Linked DNA regions of Homo sapiens: region 2 is linked to region 1. The links are contacts of gene promoters, found by promoter capture Hi-C in human tissues and cell types (Jung and others, 2019). All regions are on one chromosome and are shown on one strand. Each heading gives the region's core, a stretch centred on a gene start or on the middle of the fragment in contact. The rest is flanking DNA. Distances are from core to core; before and after follow the strand shown.

Region 1 (5,027 bases), core at 2,183-4,682:
AATATGATACTTCTATAGTTGAGGGATTTTCAAACATTCTGCTAACACTATGTCAGGATGTTTATGTGTGGGATATTCTCCCATGTATAGTACCAGAGACATGGGTAGCATACCAAGAATAAGCTCTGGCTTCAAATACTTCCCAGTGTATTGTATGTAACTGCACACTATTATAGGATTGACTTTGAATCCATTCCAATCTATTTTGAAAAATAAATCATTCACAGATTGCATTATTTTAATTATTATTGGAAACATGTTATTTGCTCAAAACCTCTTAACTAATAGCAACATATGTGACATTACATCATTATTGGACTGTTGGAGAACCATTATTTTATACTACTTCCTCATTTTATGTAAATTGTCCAACTTATTGCACAATGTTGTTTATAACATTCTCTAATTTTTTAATGTCCATAGAATTGATTTCTCCTTTCACTCCTAAAATTGGAAATTTTTGCCATCTTATTTTTTCCTTGCTCAATCTGGCTAGTGGGGTTATCCATTTTGTGATCTTTTCCAAAAAATGGCTTTTGGTTTAATTGATTTTATCTATTATTTGTCATTTTCTCTTTCATTGATTTGTACTCTTTATTACTTCCTTCTTTCTGCTCATGTTGAATTCAATTTATTCTTTTTCTAGTGTCTTAAGGTTCAAACTCAAATAAATATTTTTAGATCTTTCTTCATTCCTAAGCATTTTAATGCTATAAATTTGCCTCTAATCACCACTTTGCCTGCAACCCACAAATTTTGATATGTTGGATTTTCATTATTATTTAGTTCAAATAAATTTCCAATTTTCTTATGAGAAAATTAGACCTATGGGTTATTTGGAATGTGTTGTTTAATTACCAAATATTTAGAGATTTCCATATATCTATCTGTCACCGATTTTTAGTTAAATTCCACTGTGGTAAGAGAACATAATGTGTATGATTATAATCCTTTTAAATTTATTGAGACTAGCTTCATGGCTTAGGATCAGTCAGTATGGTCAATCCTGGAGAATATTCCATGCACACTTTAAGAAAGTATTCCACTACTGTTGGGTGGACTATTTTATAAATGTCAATTAGGTGAAGTTGGTCTGCAGGACTATTTCTTTCTTTTTTTTTTTTTTTGTGAGACAGAGTCTTGCTCTGTCACCCCAGCTGAAGTGCAGTGGCGCGATGTCCGCTCACTGCAAGCTCCGCCTCCCGGGTTCACGCCATTCTCCTGCCTCAGCCTCCTGAGTAGCTGGGGCTACAGGCACCCACCACCACGCCCAGCTAATTTTTTTTTTTTTTTGTATTTTTAGTAGAGACGGGGTTTCACCGTGTTAGCCAGGATGGTCTTGATCTCCTAACCTCATGATCTGCCTGGCTCGGCCTCCCAAAGTGCTGGGATTACAAGCATGAGCCAACCGCGTCCGGCCTACAGGGCTATTTCAAGTCATCTATACCCTTACAGGTTTCCTGTCTACTTGTCCTATTTATTACATAGAGAAAAGTGCTGAAATCCTGAAGTATAATTGTGGATTTGCCTGTTTCTCCTTTTAATGCTATTAGGTTTTGCTTCGTCCTACTTTGAAGCTCTGTTCTTAGATATACAAACAAGTAGAATTGTTCCATGCTCTTAATGAATTTTTCATTATGAAATGTGCCTGTTTATTGCTATTAATATTCCTTATTGTAAAACCTACTTTGATATTAATATTGCCACTCCCAACTCTATCAGATTATATTGAGGTATAATTAACAAACAACAAAATTCGCCAATTTTAAGTGTACAAATTGATGAGTTTTGAGAAATACATGCAGCTGTATAATCATCATCACCGTCACGATATAAAACATTTCCATCTCTCCAAAAAGTTTCCTTCTGCCCCTTTGCAGTCCCCTCCCCCAATGCCACCGTCACCTGACTCGGCACCTGATGTGTTTTCTGTTTCTATAGTTTTGACTTTTCCAGAATGTTACATAAATGAAATCAAAATAATAAGTAGAATTTTTGATAGAGCTTCTTTCCCTTCGTCTAATGAATTTGAGATTCATGAATGGTATTAGTTTGTTTCTTGTTATTGCTAAGTAGTATTCCATTATGTGGATATACCATATTTTGTTTATTCATTTACTAGTAGAATAACATTTGGCTTTCCTCCAGTTTGGGGCCATTATATTAAGCTGCTATAAAACTGGAGTACAAGTTTTTTTAATAGAATTGCGTTTTTATTTCCCTTGTAAATATGGTAAGACTAGTACTTGAGACAATAGTGCTCTTAAGCTGTCTCTCTTTAGTCATTAAGCTTCCAATTAGTCCTAGAATCAGTCTCAGTAGTTAGGAAATCATGACTGCATACTGAACACTGTACCAGGTGAAAGAGAGGAATATATAACAAAACGTTGAGATCGATAGGTATCGATATATGGCTTCAAGGCCGAGCAGAAGCCACCCGAAGCAAGGAGAAAAAATGCCAGGAAAGCTCACAAATATAGTTTTGATCTTCATGCTACTGTGAGAATTAAAAAAAAAGGTGAACATAAATAACAACCTTTGAAAATGTCAACACGTGAAGCTATTAACCAACTCCACATCCCTGTTTAGAAATTCCTGCTTACTATTCGAATATACACTTGACATACAATTGACGGACGTTCCAACACTATATTTAATTGGCAGAAATTACTTCTTAAGGGTACAAAGGGTTTTCTTTATGCACGCAAATGATTACTGTCGAAGGTAATCTGGGACTCGATTAACGGCTGTGTTAATTATTCTCCCTTCAGCAGACCTCAGTATCCGTTTAAGACTAAAGTGGCTAGAATTACCTGCCCACCCGGGCTCCCAGTTGTAACTGAGACAAGCGGAGGAGCCTGAGGAGCTGAAGACGCACAGGTGACGGTCGCGGATGGCCGGCAGGATCTGACATTTAAAATCGCCCTGCTCATCTGGGCCTCGGAGCCTTTGACAGGCGGGCGTGTCAGCGACAGTGTGGGGAAGGGGCTGGGCTCCGCCAGGCAGCGCGCGACGACGCCCTTGCCTTGGCCTTCACAGAGTAGAACCCGAGAAGCCCACTCGCCCGTCTTGGCCAACGCCCCCAACGCCCAGGGCTCCCCCCGCAGTCGGCGGGCAGGTGTGCGTGGTGCGCGAGCCCAGTGCGTGCCGGGTGCGGCGCCAGCAGCGGAGGGGCGGCCCGGCGCCCAGCGGAGAGCCGCTGGCTGGGTGGGTGTCGGCCTCCCCGCCTCCTTCTTCTCCCCGCCGGCTTGCCGGGGATGCTTGCGCGAGGCGCCCCCTCGCCTTTAAGCTCCCGGCCCCGGGGGGCGGTGTGTGTGAGTAGCTGGGAGGGGGCCGCGAGGCGCTCCGCCGAGGGCTCGTCCGGGTTTGTCCGCCGCCGTCACCTGACTCGTCGGAGGAGCCACAGCTGAGGTGGGGGCGGGGATGGGGACGCAGCTCGGAGCGCTAGAGAGACGCGGCGGCGCTGGCAGAAGAGGCGGCGGCGGGCGGGTACTGGCTTCTGGGGCCAGGGGCCAGGGGCGGTGGGCGCCGGGACCGCGGAGCTGAGGAGCGGGGCCCGGCCAGGGCTGGAGACTTTGCGCCCGGGGGCACCGGGGCTACGCGCGGTCGCACACATCCACCGGCGCGGCTTCCCTCGGCGGCCCGGGCTCCGCTCATCCTGCGGCGGGCGGCGCCGCTCAGGGGCGGGGTGAGTACCCGCGGCCGTACTCGGCCCCCTCCCCGCGCCAGGGTCTCGCGGGGATCCGCAGAGGATAATCCCAGGGTGCGGAGAAGGGCAGCGGCCGAGTGACAGCTCCGCGGAGCGCTCCAGGGCGGGCGGGGGACTGGGCTTCGCTGTCAGCCCGGCTCCTCTCCAAAGCCAGGAAGGGTGAGGCGCCCCAAGACTCCGGCGCCTCCGCAGAGCTCCCGGGCGGCCCCTGCGGCAGGGATTTGGAACCGGGGGGAAGGGGCCCGGGCGATGGGCCTCGGCGAGGCTTTGGAGCCGGCGGCGAGGAAGGAAGGGGAGGCGAGGGCATAACATGGCGCAACGCTAGGATAATCTCCTTCGCGACTGAGGGAGGACGAGCCCTTTGCTGCAGCAGCGCGAGGAGGAGGAGGGAGGCAGCCAGGGCTTGGGTATCCGATGCATTCCCCGAAGCCTGCGGGCTGCTAGGAGGAAAGTCTGCTGAGGTGGGAGATGGGCACCGGTGGGTGCGGCGCCCAGGGAATAACCCCAACGCACGTTGTGGCTAGTCCAGCACCCGCGGGTCAGGTTGCGGGGAAAGTGCTGATTGACAGGGGGGTCCCCAGGGGGTGAGTCTGGCCCTATGTGGGGGCCGGGGGAGAATGGGGACGGTGTCACGATGCTGCGACTGGAGCCCACGCTGGGGTTCCGTGACGGCCCTACTCACGGCCAAGACTCCCTGGACCGCATCGCAGGAGCGGGGCTTGGCGCGTTGCTGGCTCCGAGAGGTGGTGCCAGGGTGGGGATGGAGGAGGAGAGAGCCGCCGCGCGGCTGGAGGAGGCAAGGCCTGGGTGCTTGGAGGGTAGGGTCTGCGGATTAAAGCCGGACCGTCTCCCCTTGTTTCCTGCAGAAGAGGAGGCGGTAGACGCGACCACAGAAGATGTCGGGCCAAACGCTCACGGATCGGATCGCCGCCGCTCAGTACAGCGTTACAGGCTCTGCTGTAGCAAGAGCGGTCTGCAAAGCCACTACTCATGAAGTAATGGGCCCCAAGAAAAAGCACCTGGACTGTAAGCATCTCTTTATATAAGAGGGACATGCGCACGGCAGAGGCGCCTGGGATGCTGGTGGTGCGGCCTGCGCTCTTGGTCCATAATGCTGTGGCCTCTGATACTCCCAGCCAGGTTGCCCCTGAGCTGAAATTCTTCAGCTGTGAAGGTGTTCCCTTGGGTTAGCCATGAAACCTTGTCTTGTGAGCCATTTTTTCCTCTTATTGACCTCCAAGGTCTTGGTGGAGGGGGAAAAATACACACACACACACACACACACACGCATATGTATATACACACACACAAGAGAGAG
Region 2 (4,526 bases), core at 1,636-4,135, 250 kb before region 1:
TGCCCAGGCTGGAGTGCAAAGGTGCAATCTCGGCTCACCGCAACCTCCGCCTCCCGGGTTCAGGCAATTATCCTGCCTCAGCCTCCCAAGTAGCAGGGATTACAGGCCTATGCTACCACACCTGGCTAATTTTGTATTTTTAGTAGAGAGAGGGTTTCTCCATGTTGGTCAGGCTGGTCTCAAACTCCCGACCTCAGGTGATCCACCCGCCTCGGCCTCCCAAAGTGCTGGGATTACAGGCATGAGCCACCGCACACAGGCCTCCTTTTTATTTTTATTTTTTTAAAGATTTATTTTTACTCTTTTCTTCTTATATAATATGTATTTCCTCTTATGTTCTTTCTAGTTTAGTCTTAGTACCCAAAAACATTTTTATATCTTTACTGAGATATGGTTCAAATTAGATACAATTCATCTACTTAAAATGTACAATTCAACATTTTTAGGTATATTCATAAGTATGTGCAACCATAACCACAGTAAACTTCAGAATATTTTAGCATTTCAAAAACACCCTCCCAACCCTTTAGTTATTATCCCCTATTCCTGTATCCCCTGAACAGCCACTTAATTACTTTATGTCTCATAGATTTTCCTGTTCTAGACATTTCATAGGAATAGAATCACTGCTGATAAAGACATACCCAAGAAATTAAGCCAAGAAAAAGAGGTTTAATTGGACTTATAGTTCCACATGGCTGGGGAGGCCTCAGAATCATGGCGGTAGGTTAAAAATACTTCTTACAGGGTGGCAGCAAGAGAAATGAGTAAGATGCAAAAGCGGAACCCCCTGATGAAACCATCAGATCTCATGAGACTTATTCTCTACCATGAGAACAGTATGGGGGAAACCACCCCCATGATTCAAATTATCTCCCACCAGGTCCCACGTATAACACATGGGAATTATGGGAGTATAATTCAAGATGAAATTTGGGTGGGGACACAGAGCCAAACCATATCATCCCACCCCTGGCTCCTCCAAATCTTATGTCCTCACATTTCAAAACCAATCATGCATTCCCAACAGTACCCCAAAGTCTTAAATCATTTCAGCATTAACCCAAAAGTCCACAGTTCAAAAGTCTCATCTGAGACAAGGCAAGTCCCTTCCACTTATGAGCCTGTAAAATCAAAAGCAAGCTAGTTACTTCCTAGATACAATGAGGGTACAGGTATTGGGTAAATACAGCCATTCCAAATGGGAGAAATTGGCCAAAACAAAGGGGTTACAGGGCCCATGGAAGTCCAAAATCCAGTGGGGCAGTCAAATTTTAAAGCTCCAAAATGATCTCCTTTTACTCCAGGTCTCACATCCAGGTCACGCTGATGCAAGAGGTGGCTTCCCATGGTCTTGGGCAGCTCTGGCCCTGTGGCTTTCAGGGTACAGCCTCCATCCTGGCTGCTTTCATGGGCTGGTGTTGAGTATCTGCAGCTTTTCCAGGCACCTGGTACAAGCTGTAAGTCGATCTACCATTCTGGGGTCTGGAGGACAGTGGTCCTCTTCTCACAGCTCCACTAGGCGGTGTCCCAGTAGGGACTCTGTGAGGGGGCTCCAACCCCACATTTCCCTTCTGCACTGCCCTAGCCGAGGTTCTCCATGAGAGCCCCGCCCCTGCAGCAAACTTCTGCCTGGGCATCCAGGCATTTCCATACATCTTCTGAAATCTAGACAGAGGTTCCCAAACCCCATTTCTTGACTTCTGTGCACCCACATGCTCAACATCACATGGAAGTTGCCAAGGCTTAAGGCTTTCACCCTCTGAAGCCATGGCCTGAGCTTCATGTTGGCCCCTTTCAGCCATGGCCGGAGTGGCTAGGAAACAGGGCACCAAGTCCTTAGACTGCACACAGCACAAGGACCCTAGGCCTTGCCCACAAAACCATTTTTACCATTTTTTCTTCCTAGACCTCCAGGTCTGTGATAGAAGAGGCTGCCACAAATGTCTCTGACATGCCCTGGAGACATTTTCCCCATTGTCTTGGAAATTAACATTCAGTTCCTTGTTACTTATGCAAATATCTACAGCCAGCTTGAATTTCTCCTCAGAAAATAGGATTTTCTTTTCTATCGCATTGTCAAGCTGCTAATTTTCTGAATTTTAATGCTCTGCTTCCCTTTTAAAACTGAATGCCTTTAACAACACTTGAGTCACCTCTTGAATGCTTTGCTGCTTAGAAATTTCTTCCACCAGATACCCTTAATCATCTCTCTCAAGTTCAGAGTTCCACAAATCTCCAGGGCAGGGGCAAAATGCCGCCAGTCTCTTTGCTAAATCATAACAAGAGTCACCTTTGCTCCAGTTCTCAACAGGTTCCTCATCTCCACCTGAGACCACCTCAGTCTAGATTTCATTGTCCATATCATTATCAGTATTTTTGTCAAAGCCATTCAACAAGTCTCAAGGAAGTTCCAAACTTTCCCATTTTCCTGTCTTCTTCTGAGCCCTCCAAACTGTTCCAATCTCTGCCTGTTACCAAGTTCCAAAGTTGCTTCCACATTTCCCGGTATCTTTGCAGCAACACCTGCTCTACTGGTACCAATTTACTGTATTAGTCCATTTTCACGCTGCTGATAAAAGACGTACCTGAGACTGGGGAAAAAAAGGGGTTTAATTGGACTTACAGTTCCACATGGCTGGGGAGGCCTCAGAATCATGGCAGGAGGTGAAAGGCACTTCTTACATGGCGGCCGCAAGAGAAAATGAGTAAGATGCAAAAGCGGAAACCCCTGATAAAACCACCAGGTCTTGTGAGAGTTATTCACTACCATGAGAACAGTATGAGGGAAACTGCCCCCATGATTCAAATTATCTCCCACTGGGTTCCTCCCACAACACATGGGAATTATGAGAGTACAATTCAAGATGAGATTTGGGTGGTGACACAGAGCCAAACCATATCAGGATGTTTGGGTTGTTTCCACATTTTAACTCTACGTGTAATGCTGCACCCAAGATAATGCTTCCATTCCATGAATGGGGGATATGCATCAAAAGAGAACTTTAACAAAGAAAGTAAACTCATTTTTGAATTTTAAGATCACTTTGGCATTCTGTTTTGAGGTCTGCTAAACTTGCAATGCTGGGTGAAAATGACTTCAAAATAAAACCAATGTTGAAAGACACCAAGAGACTGTAACTACTTGAGATTCCATTTTTCCTTTATAATTTATTTGCCACAATGTTAAATACTGTAGATCATACAGAATCTGTTTTTTCTGCCCAAAAATGGGGGTCTGTTATCAACAGACTCAGCCCCAACCTCGTTCAGGACAAGCTTGTGTGGTTCAGAAGGTAGATCACAGAGCAGGTTGTACCCATGCCTTTGCCAGCATAATGAAGTTGACTCTTTTGGGGTGGGTGTCAAAGCTCCTCTCATGTTCTGTTACATTAAGGTAAAAACTGAGGGCCCATAGCAAGGGCCCCTATCTAGACAAAACCTAATCATCTTATCTTGGACAAATTTCTCTGTTCTTTCTATAGCCTGTGGTAGACACAATGTGCCCATCAAAGATGTCAACACCCAAATGCCTGCAACCTTTGAATATATTATATAGGAAAAGGGACTTTACAGCTATAATTAAAATTATAGATTTTTAAAATAGGAAGATTACCCTGGATATCTGGATAGGTCCAATCTAACCACATGAGATCTTAAAAGCAGTGAACTCTTGCTAGGGCAAGAAAGATATGGCAGAAAGGGAATTCAGAGAGATTGAAAGCATAAGATTCATCTACCAATGCTGAAGAAGCCCACAAGGGAATTCAGAGAGACTGAAAGCATGAGATTCATCCACTAATGCTGAAGAGGGCCACACAGAAAGTATGAGAAGGAATGTGGGCAAATTCTAGAAACAAAGACTAGCCCACAGCTAACAGCTAGCAAGGAAATGGGGAACTCAGTCCTACAACTGCAAGGAACTGAAATCTACCTAATGAGGCTGAAAGAACTCTTATCTAGGGACTTCCCCTTACAGCCTCTAGCTAAGAGCCCAGCTCAGCTGACAATCTGATTACAGCCTTGTGAGGCTTTAAGCAGAGGACCCAGTTGAGCCATATTGTGCCTAGATTTCTGTGCCATGGAACTGTGAGATAATAAATGGGTGTTGTTTTAAGCTACTAAGTTTGTAGTAATTTGATCTAGCAGCAATAGAAAATTAATAAACTTTTTTTTAAAAAAAGCAGAATTTGCAAGCAAATGTGACTTTGAGCGTAATTCTTCTTCACTGCAAATATGTGATGTAGGAGTCTTTGAGTTATTTGCTTGAGAATAACAGTGATAAACTATACTCCTATCTGTGCTCCTCAGTATTTGGTTGCATTCATTGGAAGACTGAGGCTCTACTTAGGGGATTTTTTCCTCCAAGTCCTTCTAGAATACCCTGGAATGGAGAATGAATTTTAGGAGATCAGGACTGCAGCATGAAGATGAATTATCAAGCTACTGTACTAATCCAGCTGAGGGATGATAGGACAGGGTTAGCTGGTATGGAAGAGTCAGACTGGAGAAGGGGACATTGATGT

What was found. The method cuts DNA at HindIII sites, captures the fragments that hold promoters and counts their contacts. A contact is called where the count stands out against the background at its distance.
Region 2: a fragment that was not itself captured here is called in contact with the fragment with the promoter of SNAP91 in region 1 in 2 of the 25 tissues and cell types used here (H1 embryonic stem cells and thymus).

What each region holds. Positions count from the first base shown.
Region 1 is chr6:83,707,506-83,712,532 of GRCh38, reverse strand. It overlaps SNAP91 (synaptosome associated protein 91), which reads left to right and starts at 3,432. Exons shown (of 30, transcript NM_001242792.2): 1 at 3,432-3,688; 2 at 4,576-4,735. The coding sequence starts at 4,606. It overlaps LOC105377879 (a long non-coding RNA gene), which reads right to left and starts at 3,091. Exons shown (of 3, transcript NR_136251.1): 1 at 2,814-3,091. RefSeq lists silencers at 3,160-3,219, 3,550-3,759, 4,169-4,463. The HindIII fragment of the contact is 7,193 bases long and covers 31-5,027 here.
Region 2 is chr6:83,962,145-83,966,670 of GRCh38, reverse strand. RIPPLY2-CYB5R4 (RIPPLY2-CYB5R4 readthrough) reads right to left here. Exons shown (of 18, transcript NR_174604.1): 18 at 1-4,526. It overlaps CYB5R4 (cytochrome b5 reductase 4), which reads right to left. Exons shown (of 16, transcript NM_016230.4): 16 at 1-4,526. Among named protein-coding and RNA genes, the nearest start is that of LINC02857, 56 kb to the left of the region's middle. The HindIII fragment of the contact is 3,037 bases long and covers 1,367-4,403 here.